Regions from separate parts of the Homo sapiens genome. Here regions 1 and 3 are each linked to region 2. Evidence: promoter capture Hi-C in human tissues and cell types (Jung and others, 2019). All regions are on one chromosome and are shown on one strand. Each heading gives the region's core, a stretch centred on a gene start or on the middle of the fragment in contact. The rest is flanking DNA. Distances are from core to core; before and after follow the strand shown. Region 1 overlaps LOC124900162 (a long non-coding RNA gene). Region 2 holds the start of ZNF141 (zinc finger protein 141). Region 3 has its middle 19 kb from the start of ZNF595.

Region 1 (2,700 bases), core at 172-2,671, 270 kb after region 2:
AGCATTTGTTCTCCAAAATGCTGATGGGAGATGGCTTGCCCCAGCCACCTTGGTTGTGAAAGAGGAATTTCAAAAGCAGTTGCCGAGGATCCCACTAGGCTTCAAGAACACGTGGCCTCTCTCAAATTCAAGGCGCCAAAGTGGGGGCAGACTGAAGGGACGTGAGGGAGCCCCACAGGACAGACGGGGGCAAGCGGCCCGGCCACTGGGGCTGCCTCTGCCCAGTCACCTCCCTCCTCCGGCCTTCGTTCTGCTCCTTTCTACCCAAGGTCGGCCACTCCCCTGCCCTATAAAAACCCACCCATGTCCCCGTCAAGGGCAGCAGGCACCCCAGGCTGCTAAGACGTGCACTCTGAGCGCCTTCCCAGCCCAGGGACTGTCCCCAAGGTCCAGCTGCCCAGGGGCCCTGAGCAGCCACTCCCACTTCTTGTCATCACAACCGCTTAAGGACCTGCAGATGAGGGCATCCTATCCCACCCCAGCCCTGGGGGCCATGTTCAGGCCAGGAGAAGCCACCAAACACTGCCACCATCTTCCTGGCTCCAGAGGCTCTGTGCCAACACCAGGCCCCCTTGGGCCCACCTAGCCCACAGACCTTGGAGGCAGGTGCACGAGCAGGTGCATCCATCCCATGGACTCTGATGGGCTGTCAGGAAGGACGCAGGTAGAGCCCAGGTCCTGCCCAGCAGGTGCAGTTCCAAGGCTGCCTCTGGGTGGCGTGCTTGGACCAGTCAGGTGCCCTGTGTTCACCTAACACCGCAGAACCGGCTTCCAGCTGCCAGGGCGATGCAAGCCTGTAGAAGCACAGATGCGGTCATTCCTCAGCCCTACCCAGGCCTTGAGAGTGGAGGGTCAGGGGCCTCTGCACAAAGGCTTTGATCCCCCAAATACACACAGACCCCCACTTTCCTTGTTAGTTTTCTAACACTTCCATAGCAAGCTACCACAGACTAGGTAGCTTCAGCAGCAGAAATGTGTCCTCTGACCATTCTGAAGGCTGAGAGTCTGGGATGAAGACGTTGACGGGTGTGGTCTCCGCAGAAGTCTCTCTCCTTGGTCTGCAGACAGCTGCTCTCTTGCTGCCTCTTCACATGGTCTTCCCTCCACGCGGGCTCACCCAGGGGACTCTGTGTGACCTGGTCTCCTCGTCTTATAGGAATGCCAGCCATGTTGAATTAGAGCCCCACATTCATGCCTCATTTCTACTTAATCACCTCTTTATTTTTAAAATTTATTTATTTATTTATTTTATTTTTTTTGAGACTGAGTCTCATTCTGTTGCCCAGGCTGCAGTGCAGTGGCATGATCTCAGCTCACTGCAACCTCCACCTTCCGGGTTCAAGCGATTCTTCTGCCTCAGCCTCCCGAGTAGCTGGGATTACAGGTGCACGCTATCACGCCCAACTGATTTTTTGTATTTTAGTAGAGACAGGGTTTCACCATGTTGGCTGGTCTTGAACTCCTGAGCTCAGGCAATCCGCCTGCCTCGGCCTCCCAAAGTGCTGGGATTACAGGCGCGAGCCACCGTACCCGGCCTCCCAAAGTGCTGCGATTACAGGTGCGGGCCACCGTACCCGGCCTAAATTACCTCTTTAAAGGTCTTACCTTCAAATAACGATCACGTCATGAGGTACTGGGGGCTGGGATTTCAACATATGAATTTTGTGGGACACAATTTCAATCCATAACACTGACGTAAGGTTCTTGCACTGTATGTGAAGTGGTATAATATGTAAATGTGACAATTCGTAGAGAAAGAAATGTCTTTTCAACCAGTGATGCTGGAACTATTGAATATGCATGTGCAAAAAGAAAAAGAGAGCCTCGATCTATACCCGGACCACATATAAAAATAACTCAAAATGTACTGCAGACGTAAATGTCACACCTAAGACTACACAGTTGCTAGAAGTAAACCTAAGCGAACATTTCTGTGATCTTGAGTGGACAAAGATTTTTTAGCTGTGATTTCAAAAGCATCATCTATAAAAACAATAAACCAGCCTTCATCAGCATTAAAAGCATCTGCTCTTGGGAAGACACTGTTAACAGAATAAAAAGGCAATTCATAGACTGGAAGAAAGTATTTTAAAATCACATATCTGATAAAGGATTTATGTCTGGAATATATAAAGAACAAAATGCATTACAGCACCCCCCACCACACGCTTGTCTGTGGTTCCACTTTGTGTGGTTTCAGTTACCAGCAGTAAACTGTGGTCGGAAAATATTACATGCAACAAGATATTTTGAGAGAGAGAGACAGAGCCCACATTCACGTAACTTTTATTACAGTTTACTGTTATAATTGTTCTATTTTATTATTATTTTTAGTCTCTTATTTTGCCTAGTTTGTACATTAAACTTTATCATAGGTATATATTTATAGGAAAAAATGTAGTATGTATAAAGTTCAGAGTTCAGTACTATCCATGGTTTCAAGCATTCATTGGGGGGTCTTGGAATGTATACCCAGCAGATAAGGAGAAACTGCTGTCATAAGTAAACAAACAATCCAATTTGTTTTGAGGTTTGGGTTTTTTTGTTTAGAGACAGGGTATCATTCTCTTGCCAAGGCTGGAGTGCAGTGACACCACCATAGCCCAGTGAAGCCGTAACATTCCAGGCTCAAGCAATTCACCCACTTCTGCTTCCCAAGTAGCTGGAACTACAGGTGTACACCATCGCACCCAGCTAATT
Region 2 (2,700 bases), core at 12-2,511:
CCGCGGGGCTCCGCGGCTCAACGGGTCGCCCAGGGGCGCGGGCCCGGCTTCGTCCTCGACGGTGTCCGCCCCGGCCCTGGCTAGGCCGACGGCAGCCGGGTCCGGGTGGGGCTCGGGCTCGGGGCGCGCCCCTCCCATCTCTCCAGGGTCCGCGTCCTCGCTGCCGCCAGGTCCCGCCGAGATCCCCGGTGGCCCCGGCTCCAGCGGCTGCAGCGTCGCCATCGCCGGGCAGACCCCGGCCGACCTCAAAGCGACCGCGCGGTGGGGCCGGCGGGGACTGGGGCTGCGCAGCGCGGCCTGGGGTGGGGGCGGCGGGGCCCCCAGGAGCTCCTGGGAACCGAGGGTCCTGGGGCGGTCCCGCCCCGCACAGCTCCGGGTGAGCTTGGGGAGGGAGACACACTCTCAGCCCACCTCGCCCCGCCCGACAGCGCTCCGAGTCCTGAGTCCCCTCACCCCCATTCTACAGACACGAAGGTGAAGCCAAAGACGGGACGCTCACTTCCTGAGAATTTGCTGCCTGCTGCGTGGACACCACCGACCTATTGTTTACAGCGGTCAGGGACCCGCCCCCCAGACCCCCAGGACCGCGCTTCCGGGGGAGGAGGGTGTCCTCAGCAACGGTGACCCGCACCAAAGCCCTCCTCACCGGGGTCACCGCCACAGCCGGTGCGAGGCCCGCAGGGCGCTGGGGATGCGCGACCGACTCCCGTGAACCTGCTCCTCGCGCGTCAGGGAGAGCTGTGCACCCAACTAGGCTCTGTGAGGACGGACTGAGGTCGGCCTGCAGGCTGCGGCCCCGAAGGCAGGATTTGTGGAGAGATGATTCGCGAGCCTTGGAGGAAGGATGGGCTGTGCGTGCGTGGGTGCGTGCGTGTGTGTGTGTGTGTGTCTGTGACTTTTGTATGTTTATGTGAGACTGCGTACGTGCGCGCGTCTGTGTGTGCGCGCGCGCGTATATGTCTGTGTGTGTGCGTGCGTGTATAATTTCTAAATGGACGTCACCTTACACATCACAAGGTTAAAAAATGACCCCTGGGCTGTGCCAGGCCAAGCACGAAGAGAAAGCCCCGCCTGAAACTGCCTGGAGGCCCCCCGGCTGTCACTCTCGCCACATTCCGTGGAGTATGTGGTTGCAACTTCTGTCACTCAAGGTCTGATGGCGGGGAGATTGGAGCCGTATCCAATCAGCGCACTGGAGTGAAAACTGCCCAATCAGGCACGCAGCCAGAGAGGAGGCGGTGGCTTCCGGGATGTGGCGCGGGTCTTTGCGTCTGGCTACTACCAGACCGCGGGTTAGGGGCTTCATCTCTCTGCGTTCTCAGTTGTGGGAGGCCTTGGTGATTCGGCCACAGCTCAGCCTCCGTCGCTCTGTGACCTGCGGGTATTGGATGATTGGTAGCTAAGACTCCCGAATACTTCAGAAGTGGGGAAATGGTGAGTGTGCGGGGCAGGGCGTCCCAAGGCTGAGGAGGTCTCATCGGAGCTGGCGGGAAATGGCGGCGGGACCGAGTCTGCGAACGGAGTCCCCGCTGCCGCCGCTCAGCCCTGGGGCCTCAGTACCCTCCGGTGAGGGACCTGGGCTCCTGTCGGTCCCCGCACAGCGGCTCTGGCCCAGCCTGCAGCCCTCCTTGTGCAGCTCTGCGCCCGCAGCCCCGCACCTTCCCCAGGCTGTGGGGTGAGGAGTAGCTTATCTGGAAGCCGCCCGCGCGGCGTGCGCGATGCCGGCGTGGGAGGAGCTGTGGGAGAAGCTGTGGTCTGGGGATCCCGTCCCTGCTTTACCCTGTTCGGAATGAGATCGAGGCCCCATCAAAACAGAGTTCATGTGAGCAAATGGGGACTCATTAATGGGACAGCGCCGGCCGTGGCTCGTGGTTTGGGGGCTGCCAGCGGGTCTTGAAGGAAAAGCTTTTGTGAGGTGTGTGAGGAAGCGAAGCAAATCACCCGCCCGCTCCAACTTGCCCACCAGTCTCCTTGCCCTGTGCGCCTCCTCCGCGTGGCTGTTCCTGAGTGGCATCTTTTAGAATACGCTAGTGTGGGCGCGCACAGCGCTTCGCTGAGTTCTGTGAGTAGTTCTGTCATATTATTGAACTTGAGGAGGGTGTGGGCCCCTGGTTTGTAGACAGGTGTTCAGAAATGAAGACGGGTGTCCAGAGGCAGGGACTGGCGTCTGCAGGGGGGCAGCTGCGGGAAGAGCGCTGAGCTTGTGGGGTCTGTGCTGACTCCGGGTGGTGTCGTTAGTGAGTTGTTGGACAGCCCGTTGGGGTCGGAGCATTGACTGGTGTTGAGCAAACTCCTCACGTTTCCTGTCAGAAGAAAGACATGGCTGAGCCTGGGCTGGAGGGAGTCGCAGGTGTCCGCGGGAGACCAGCCGGGTTCTGCACATGCACTGTCCTGCTGCGCACTGTTCTGTTCCTCCAGGTCTCCTCCCGGGGAGAGAGGGCGCTGAGAACTTGGAGGAAAGGAGTTCTGAGAAACATCCCTTCCCTGCACCCTGCTGCCAGCCCCCACCCAATGCTAACCCACTCCTGAGCCCGCCCATTGGGCATTCGCACGGCCACACTTGTCCCAGGACAGGGTTCTACCCTCAGGAATTGTGCCCATGGCAGCTTTGCTCCTAGGTTTTTCTCCCAAGAACACACACAGTGCCCAGAAGACTCCTGGTTCATTTTAACCCCAGATCTGTAGCAGGAATCTGTTTTC
Region 3 (2,700 bases), core at 89-2,588, 300 kb before region 2:
CATTTCATAATCTTGTTGAGCATTTATTTATAATTTGGTTGCCTATTACCTGAGTGGATTGTGGTTATATGTTTATATGCTTATTCCAAATATAGTGCTAAGATTAGCATTAGAGACAGCAAAATATTTACAGGTTTTGAAACTAGAAGGAGCCAAACAAATCCATGATCCAGCTCTGCATACTCTCACCCAGCCTTAGTTCTCTCACACAGAAAGTGAAGACAGTGCTATTTGCCTTGTGGCATTGCTGTGAACTTAAAGAAGGCACCGATTGTACACACAGCAGTGCGCAGACCGTGGAAGGCTGGGCTCCGACCAACTCTAAGGACAATCACCATCGGATGCCCCACGATCCTACTCTCAGGATGCCCATATGCCATATGCCATGTGAGTGTCACTCAGTGAACACATATTTGTTGATTATAAATTACTCCCATGCTGTTTTCTTTGTTTTACATGTTCACAAATCTGTAAAAACAAAGTTAGAATTATGAAATTAAAAGTTAACTAAAGGAGGAGATTTTCATTATCTCTGAAATGTAACCCCCCAAATCCAGATTATAAAGCAAGGAAATGTCTTATGGCCCAACACTTGCCATCAATACTTTTTTTATGTTAGTGGGCAGGGGAGGGTAGTGAAAATGAAGGAATCAGAGCTCCGATGGGTGCACATTGTCTTCCCTACAAATCCATTGCTTGTCCAGCCTTCCTTCCTCATTGGGGCTGCTCTATCCTTTTCCACACATTTGAACTGCTCCCCTGTAGGCCTTTCTCATTTGCTTTACTTCCTAGTCTGAATTCCATGGGACCCACATTTAAGGAGAGGGGAACAACTCTGGGACTGGAGGAAGTTCACCTTATGAGTTATACCTGCCTCCTTCCTCTACAGTGAACGGTCTCTGGTGTCCCTGGGTGTTCAGTTTCTTTCCACTCATGTGTTACTGACTGTTCAGGTGGCAAATGGCCCATGACCTTTATGGGATTAAAAAGAAAAAAAATAAAAAGCTGTGTTTCTTTTTTTTTAACTTTTATTTTAGGTTAGGGGGTACACGGGAGGGTTTGTTATACAGTTAAATACGTGTCACAGGGGTTTGTTGTACCTGTTATTTCATCATCCAGGTATTAGGCCCAGTATCCAATAGTTATCTTTTCTGCTCCTCTCCCTCCTCCCACCCTCCCCCCATCAAGTAGACCCCAGTGTCTTTTGTTTCCTTCTTTGTGTTCACAAGTTCTTATCATTTAGCTCCCACTTATAAGTTAGAACATGCTGTATTTGGTTTTCTGTTCCTGCGTTAGTTTGCTAAGGATAATACCCTTCAGCTTCATCCATACTAATGCAAAAGACATAATCTCATTCTTTTTTATGGCTGCATATTATTCCATGGTGTATATGTAGCACATTTTCTTTATCCAATCCGTGACTGATGAGTATTTGGGTTGATTCTATGTCTTTGCTATTGTGAATAGTGCTGCAATGAACATTTGCATGCATGTAACTTCATGGTAGAATGATTTATATTCATCTGGGTATATAACCAGTAATGGGATTGCTAGGTCAAATGTTGTAGTTCTGCTTTTAGCTCTTTGAGGAATCACCATACTGCTTTCCACCACAGTTGAATTAACTTACACTCCCACCAATGGTGTATACATGTTCACTTTTCCCTGCAACCTTGCCAACTTCTGTTAGTTTTTTAGTTTTTAGTAATAGCCATTCTGACTGGTGTGAGATGGTGCCTCACTGTGGTTTTGATGAGCATTTCTCTAGTGATCAGTGATCTAGAGCTTTTTTCCATATGCTTGTTTGCCACGTTTGCTTTTTTTTTTTTTTTTTTTTTTCTTAGCCCGAGTCTCGCTCTGTCACCCAGGCCAGAGTGCAGTGGTGCGATCTCAGCTAACTGCAAGCTCTGCCTCCTGGGTTCACGCCATTCTCCTGCCTCAGCCTCCCAAGTAGCTGGGACTACAGGTGCCTGCCACCACACCCGGCTAATTTTTTGTATTTTTAGTAGAGACGGGGTTTCACCATGTTAGTCAGGATGGTCTCAATCTCCTGACGTTGTGATCCACCCTCCTTGGCCTCCCAAAATGCAGGAATTACAGGCGTGAGCCACCACGCCCGGCACACATGTTTGTCTCCTTTGGAGAAGTGTCTCTTTATGTCCTTGGCCCACTTTTTAATGGGGTTGTTTTTCTCTTGTAAATTTGTTTAAGTTCCTTATAGATGCTGGATATTAGACCTTTGTCAGATGCATAGTTTGTAAATACTTTCTCCCAATCTGCAAGTTGCCTGTTTACTTTGTTGATAGTTTCTTTTGCTGTGTAGAAGCTCTTTAGTTTAACTAGATCCCACGTCAATTTTTGCTTTCATTGCTATTGCTTTTGTTGTCTTTGTCATGAAATCTTTGCCTGTTCTTATGTCCAGGATGGTATTGCCTAGGTTGTCTTCCAGGGTTTTTATATTTTTGGGTTTTACACTTAAGTCTTTAATCCATCCTGAGTTCATTTTTGTGTATGGTGTAAGAAAGGGGCCCAGTTCAATCTTCAGCATGTGGCTAGCCAGTTATCCCAGCACCATTTATTGAACGGAGTCTTTTCCCCATTGCTTGTTTGTCAGAAAAGCTATTCCTAAGGCTTTGCCCAACATACCTTTAACTTTTGACCATATCTTTCCCCTGGTCAATAGGCTCCAGGAAATGGGAC

What was found. The method cuts DNA at HindIII sites, captures the fragments that hold promoters and counts their contacts. A contact is called where the count stands out against the background at its distance.
Region 1: a contact is called between a fragment that was not itself captured here and the fragment with the promoter of ZNF141 in region 2, in 1 of the 25 tissues and cell types used here (dorsolateral prefrontal cortex).
Region 3: a contact is called between a fragment that was not itself captured here and the fragment with the promoter of ZNF141 in region 2, in 1 of the 25 tissues and cell types used here (dorsolateral prefrontal cortex).

Annotation. Positions count from the first base shown.
Region 1 is chr4:602,124-604,823 of GRCh38, forward strand. The region is part of intron 1 of LOC124900162 (a long non-coding RNA gene); the gene reads left to right. Among named protein-coding and RNA genes, the nearest start is that of PDE6B, 22 kb to the right of the region's middle. The HindIII fragment of the contact is 9,672 bases long and covers 1-2,700 here.
Region 2 is chr4:336,553-339,252 of GRCh38, forward strand. ZNF141 (zinc finger protein 141) reads left to right here and starts at 1,262. Exons shown (of 4, transcript NM_003441.4): 1 at 1,262-1,434. The coding sequence starts at 1,432. RefSeq lists silencers at 1-31, 262-371 and enhancers at 386-901, 1,007-1,967, 1,012-1,111. The HindIII fragment of the contact is 20,671 bases long and covers 1-2,700 here.
Region 3 is chr4:33,215-35,914 of GRCh38, forward strand. No RefSeq gene overlaps it. Among named protein-coding and RNA genes, the nearest start is that of ZNF595, 19 kb to the right of the region's middle. The HindIII fragment of the contact is 4,755 bases long and covers 1-2,700 here.